Regions from separate parts of the Homo sapiens genome. Here region 1 is linked to region 2. Evidence: promoter capture Hi-C in human tissues and cell types (Jung and others, 2019). All regions are on one chromosome and are shown on one strand. The core of a region is centred on a gene start or on the middle of the fragment in contact, and the rest is flanking DNA. Distances in the headings are between cores, read along the strand shown.

What was found. Contacts are between HindIII fragments. The study calls those that stand out against the background at their distance.
Region 1: a fragment that was not itself captured here is called in contact with the fragment with the promoter of RRAS2 in region 2 in 2 of the 25 tissues and cell types used here (H1 embryonic stem cells and IMR-90 fibroblasts).

Annotation. Positions count from the first base shown.
Region 1 is chr11:14,436,944-14,439,817 of GRCh38, reverse strand. No RefSeq gene overlaps it. Among named protein-coding and RNA genes, the nearest start is that of COPB1, 61 kb to the left of the region's middle. The HindIII fragment of the contact is 7,789 bases long and covers 1-2,874 here.
Region 2 is chr11:14,357,593-14,360,468 of GRCh38, reverse strand. RRAS2 (RAS related 2) reads left to right here and starts at 1,286. Exons shown (of 6, transcript NM_012250.6): 1 at 1,286-1,706. The coding sequence starts at 1,599. RefSeq lists silencers at 1,187-1,686, 1,757-1,956, 1,997-2,116 and an enhancer at 2,357-2,456. The HindIII fragment of the contact is 8,284 bases long and covers 1-2,409 here.

The DNA.
Region 1 (2,874 bases), core at 321-2,820, 79 kb before region 2:
CAGGGGTGGCAGAGGCAGAAGGAAATTCCTGTAAACATGGACCCATGAAGTTCAATCCCATGTTGTTCAAGGGCCAACTATAATTACAATTGTGAAGAGTGCTACCAAGGAAAAAACTCCAAGTATCATAAGAGCTTACAATAGGAAGACCTAGCCTAGACCAAAGAATCAGGGAAGGCCTCTCTGAGAAAGTGACATTTAATTCGAGACCTAAAGAAAGGGTTAAAATTAGCCAAGTGAAAGGAGTAGGAGTGAAATGGAAGTGCTCTCCTCGTGCAAGGAAGAGTATCTGTGAAGGCCTCAAGGAGGAAAGGAGGAAGGAAATGAAAAGGGTTCCTGTTAGAGTGTATGGAAGGTTGAGGCTAAGACTAAGAAGACAATGTGAACCAAATATTTGGGTCATTTCAAGGATTTTGAGCAAGTGTACAGTTTCACGCAGAGGGTGGCATGATCTGATACGTCCTTTTAAAAAAGGTCAGCCTGTTTGTAGTATGTTGAAAGGGCTTAATGGAGGTAAGTAAATCAGATGGGAAGCTATTGTATTAATAGTTGTCCATCCGAAGGCAGATGGCTTAGTGGAGATAGATTCAAGAAACTTCTCCAAGCTCCTGAACGCCCATAACCTACTTCTGGTCCCTTCTCCACCACACCACCACTACTACCAATTTTGGCAATTGACTTGCTTCCTACTTCTTAGGAAATTTAAAATATCAGGTGTGAACTTCAATTTCCTGCTTCTACACCTACACATTTAGCTAACTATACTTCCTTCACTTCCTTCCTGCCAGTCTCAGAGAAAGAGGGTCAGATCTCCTTTCTAAGGCACATCATTCTTCCTTCCACCTTCTCCAAGACCAATACCATGCCCCTTGATTAACCACTCCTTCTCCTCTAAACACATGCAATTCTCTTCTAATTAGAAGAACAAAAAACAGGCCTGGCATAGTGGCTCACACCTGTATTCCCAACACTTTGGGAGGCCAAGGCAGGCGGATCACCTAAGGTCAGGAGTTTGTGACCAGCCTGACCAATATGGTGAAACTCCGTCTCTACTAAAAATACAAAAATTAGCTGGGTGTGGTGGCACGGGCCTGTAATCCCAGCTACTTGGGAGGCAGAGGCAGGAGAATTGCTTGAACCTGGGAGGTGGAGGTTGCAGTGAGCTGAGATCACGCCACTGCACTCCAGCCTGGGCGACAGAGTGAGACTCTGTCTCAAAAAAAAAAGAAAAACAAAAAATCCACTCACCTCCTGTCACCCTAGCTACTACCTTATCTCTCCTTCCCTTTATAACAAAATTTCTATAGTCCACTCTTCCTATGTCAGAGATAGTGGTGTTTACCAAATATTCTGTTCTGCTCCTCACATTTCCCAGGAACTTAGCAATTAGGCAGGCTGAGGTGATTAGTATCTCACTCTGGACCAAAGTGTAAAATAGCTGGCATGTGACCTCCTAAGATCTCTTCACTTGCTGAGCCAATTGTGGAGAGGATTTTGTCTTCCAGAAGTTGCTCAGCACAGTGAATGAAAATATATTCATATCTCAGCACTTAGTGAAATTCAGAACACTGTTGTATAATTTCAGAACACCAAAGAAAAAGAGAAGATTCTAGCAGGGTGTAGTGGAATCCTGTAATCCTGTAATGCCTGTAATCCTAACACTTTGGGAGGATTACTTTAGCCCAGGAGTTAGAGATCAGTTTGGGCAACCTAGCAAGACCTTATGTCTACAACAAATTAAAAAATTAGCCAGGTGTGGTGGTGCATGCCTGAGTAGTCCAAGCTACTCAGGAGGCTGAGGCAGGAGGATTGCTTAAGCTCACTAGGTCCAGGCTGCAGTGAGCTATGATCCTGCCACTGCACTTCAGCCTGGGTGACAGAGCGAGACCCTGTCTCTAAAATAAAGATAAATAAATAAATAAATAAATAAATAAATAAATAAGAGAAGATTCTGAAAACTTCCAAAAAGAAACAATGGGTTGTATACAATCAGGAATCAAAATGTCTTGAGGATCCTTAACAACATTGGAATCAAGAAGGGAATGGAGCAATGGCTTAAAAATTCTGCAAGCAAATACTTCCTAAGAATTCTATACTTTTCAGACTATAATCAAGTGTGAAGATAGGATGAAGAAATTTTCTCTGACATATACACTTTCCCACCAAAATATAGGAGTAAACAAACAAACAAACAAACAAGATCCAACAAGGAAAGAGATGAAGAGCACCTGAAGAGTGACAATCAGTAGAGATTCTAGGATCACAGCATTGCACCAAGTGTCGAGCATAATCAGGCCAAAGAGTAAGGTGATTCAAGAGAGGTTCACTGAGGAGTATCATCAGGTTAAAACTGATGAAACTACTGGAACAGATATCTCCCAAACAGGGGTGCAAACTGAGAAAGAGAAAGATACAAATTCTAGGCAACAGGGATCCCAACTCAGAAAAAGGCAAAAAAGAATTCTCAGGATGACAGGGAAGAAAAGTGCTGGGAAGACAGCTAAGCAGAAGGGCTAGGGTGCAATCAGATAAGAAAATGAGTCTCCGGGAGTCTCTAGGAGACTCATTTTCAATTTTTCAAGAGAAAAATTGGAACAGACAGATTACCTGATGTAATTGACTACAAGGGAATCTGTAGTGAAAGATTATTGTAAAGTGTCAAAGAAATAACTATAGGTAATAATTACAAAGAAAATTAAGCAGGTGAAAAACCAAGGCAATTATTAGATTTAGGAAAAGCAAAAGTTGGAAAAGAAATATAATTTTGAGCAGGGCATGGTGGCTCACATCTGTAATCCTTGCACTTTGGGAGACCAAGGCAGGAGGGCGGATTGAGGCCAGGAGTTCAAGACCAACCTGGGCAACATAGTGAGA
Region 2 (2,876 bases), core at 37-2,536:
TGATTGTGCCACTACACTTCAGCCTGGGTGACAGAGGGATCTTGTCTCAAAAAAGAAAAAAAAAAGATTTTTAAAAAAGGAATTCAGGATGGGCTGGCCTGGATGGGTATTTTTGCTTGGGGTCTCTCACGCAGTTGCATTCAGATGCTAACAGGGGATGCCGTCATTGGAAGGCTCGATTAGGCTGAGTGTCCAAGATGTCTCACTTAGATGGCTGGCAGGTGATGCTGGTGATCTGGTGGGAGCTCAGTGGGACTTTTTTTTTTTTTTTTTAAATGGCATGTTGCTCCTGGCCATCAATCAGACTTCGACTGGCATGCCTACATGTAGCCTCTTTAGCATGGCAGTCTTATGATAGTCAAACTTCTGACTTTGTTCCTCCCGGAGTGAGAATACCAAGAGAACAGCTGCATGGCCTCTTCTGATCTAGCCTGGGAAATTAGGCAGCATCTCTTCTGCTGCATTCTACTGGTTCCAAATGAGTTACCAAGTGAAGTCCAAGAACTTGCAGTCATGTTCCAAGATTGCTGTAAATGCTTCCTGTGTAGCAGCACTGTTTTATGTGCTCATTTAATTCTTATTAAAAACCCCATGAGGCCGGGTGCAGTGACTCACACCTGTAATTCCAGCACTTTGGGAGGCCGAGGCGGGAGGATTGCTTGAGGCCAGGAGTTCAACCCCTCGCACTCACACTCCTCATATCCAATTACTGCACATTTGTCACACATAAACATAGCCACTATGACACTGTACTGACACATACAAAATCTGTCACATTCCGTCTTGCCCATGCAAGCTCAATCACTGACTTATTCTCCATGCTCAGCCACTGTCCCATTCTTCACACTGTCACAACCACCAGCCCATCACACACTCAATTACTGTGACACAGCTCTAATCCTCAATCACTGTCACATACTGTTTTTCACACAAATATGGTCACCATCTGTACTCTTAAAGCAGGGTATGTACTCTCCTATAAAATTGAGTTAATATGCCAACAGCCCTATTTTTCGCACACGCCGTCACATATTGTATTTTTCATCCACACAATCCCTTACATAGACAATTAGGGTGACACACTCTTTCTGCCTTCGTCCCACTCCCAACTGACACCCACTCCCACACTCTCACGCACTCGCTCACTGGCTAGGGATTAGAGCGGTGTGTCCGTGGGGGTCTGAAGCCCGGGTTACCTCCCGAACCTCAGCCCCAAGCGGCGCGGCCCCGCCCCTCCCCGCCCCCTCATGCATATGCAGCACCTCAGCCTGGCAGCCCGGCCCCCAGACGGCCATTTGTGGCGGCGCTGGAGGCTGCGTTCGGCAGGCGCTGCGGAGACGCGTAGAGGAGCGCGCCCCCCGGCCGCTGCCGCCCCTGGCCCGTGCCGTCACCCCGCTTCTCCGCGCCTCGGGCGGTACCCAGCCAGTCCCCAGCGCCGCGCTACCGCGCTGACCGGCCCTCCAGACGCCTCCCGGTACCCGGGACCCCAGCCCGGCCGCTCGCCCGCAGCCCGCCGGCCGCACACGTCCCCGGAGCCGGGCCTAGGGCGGGCGGCAGCGGCGGCTCGGCGCAGTCAGGCTGGGCTCTGTAGCGTCCCCATGGCCGCGGCCGGCTGGCGGGACGGCTCCGGCCAGGAGAAGTACCGGCTCGTGGTGGTCGGCGGGGGCGGCGTGGGCAAGTCGGCGCTCACCATCCAGTTCATCCAGGTACCTGGAGCGGGCCTGCCCGGGGCGCCGGAGCGGCGGCGGGCGGGGGCTGGCGCTACCTGTGGCGGGGCGGCCGCCGCGACCTCGCCCCAGAGGCGCCTCGCGGGCCCGGGCCGGGGCCAGGGGGCGGGAGGGCGCGGGGCCGACTACGCTCCTGCCCTGCGGCCGCAGCGTCGCGCTCCTGCCTCCTCCCGGGCGCGGCGTCGCGGGAGTAGGGCTTCTCAGGAATGTGGTCGGGAGGGCGGAGCTGGAAGGGTGGGAAGCACCGATCCACCTTATTGCTCTGGCCGAGGCCAGAGACCTCCGGGAGAGGCTGGGCCACCGAGCCGGGCTTTACTGCTCCGAGGGTCCGGGCGTGGGGCTGGAGCTGGAGCCCCGCGCGCTGCTTTTCCAGCCGCCTGCGGCCGCGCCTTCACCGTCGGGGCGATAGCGGTGGCAACTTGGCCGCGGCTCCGCGTGGTCTCCGGGCTTCCCCGCGCCGCCTGAGCCGGAGCTGCCCGCTTCAAGTACTGTGTATTTCTTTGTGTGTGTGTTACGCTCTTTTTATAAGTACTCTCTTAGGTAATATGTCCGGGTGGGAGTGTGTGATAATGCCCCGGGGAAATGGTGGCTTCTAGGAAGTTAAAAATGTTCTCTGATGGGGTGAGACCATTTCCTAGGAATTCCTGATGCCGTCCTGCTTCTCGCCGTGCCTAGGTGAAGTTTGGGATGGGCCGGGCTAGGATATGACCGAGTCGTGCGTTCTGTTTTCTAACCACCCTCTCCCCTACCCCCAGCCCTCTCTGGTTGCTAGAGACGGTAAGTCAGGGGTTTGTGGTAAAGAAAAGGGAGGTGGTATTCTTCCTTCTTAGAATTTGCTCTTGGGGAGAGGTTTGAGTAGTCTTTTTTGGGATTTTTAAAACACAAAGCCCCGATGTCTTTCTGCTTTTGTCAACCTAAAAGGTGTGGCATATGCTGGGAGAGAACGAAGGTACCCTGTTATAACAGGAAACAAGGATATTTTTCACAGTATCTAGAGTATGAACGGTGAAATATTTTTGTCTGGTTTCCTTTTCACCCATTTGTCATTAATTGGGATACCTGAATAGCTTATTTCACTTAGTGTTTATAGTGACATTAAAATATTGAGTACTGTAACAAATGTGATTGTCACCTTTCACATTGAGTAAA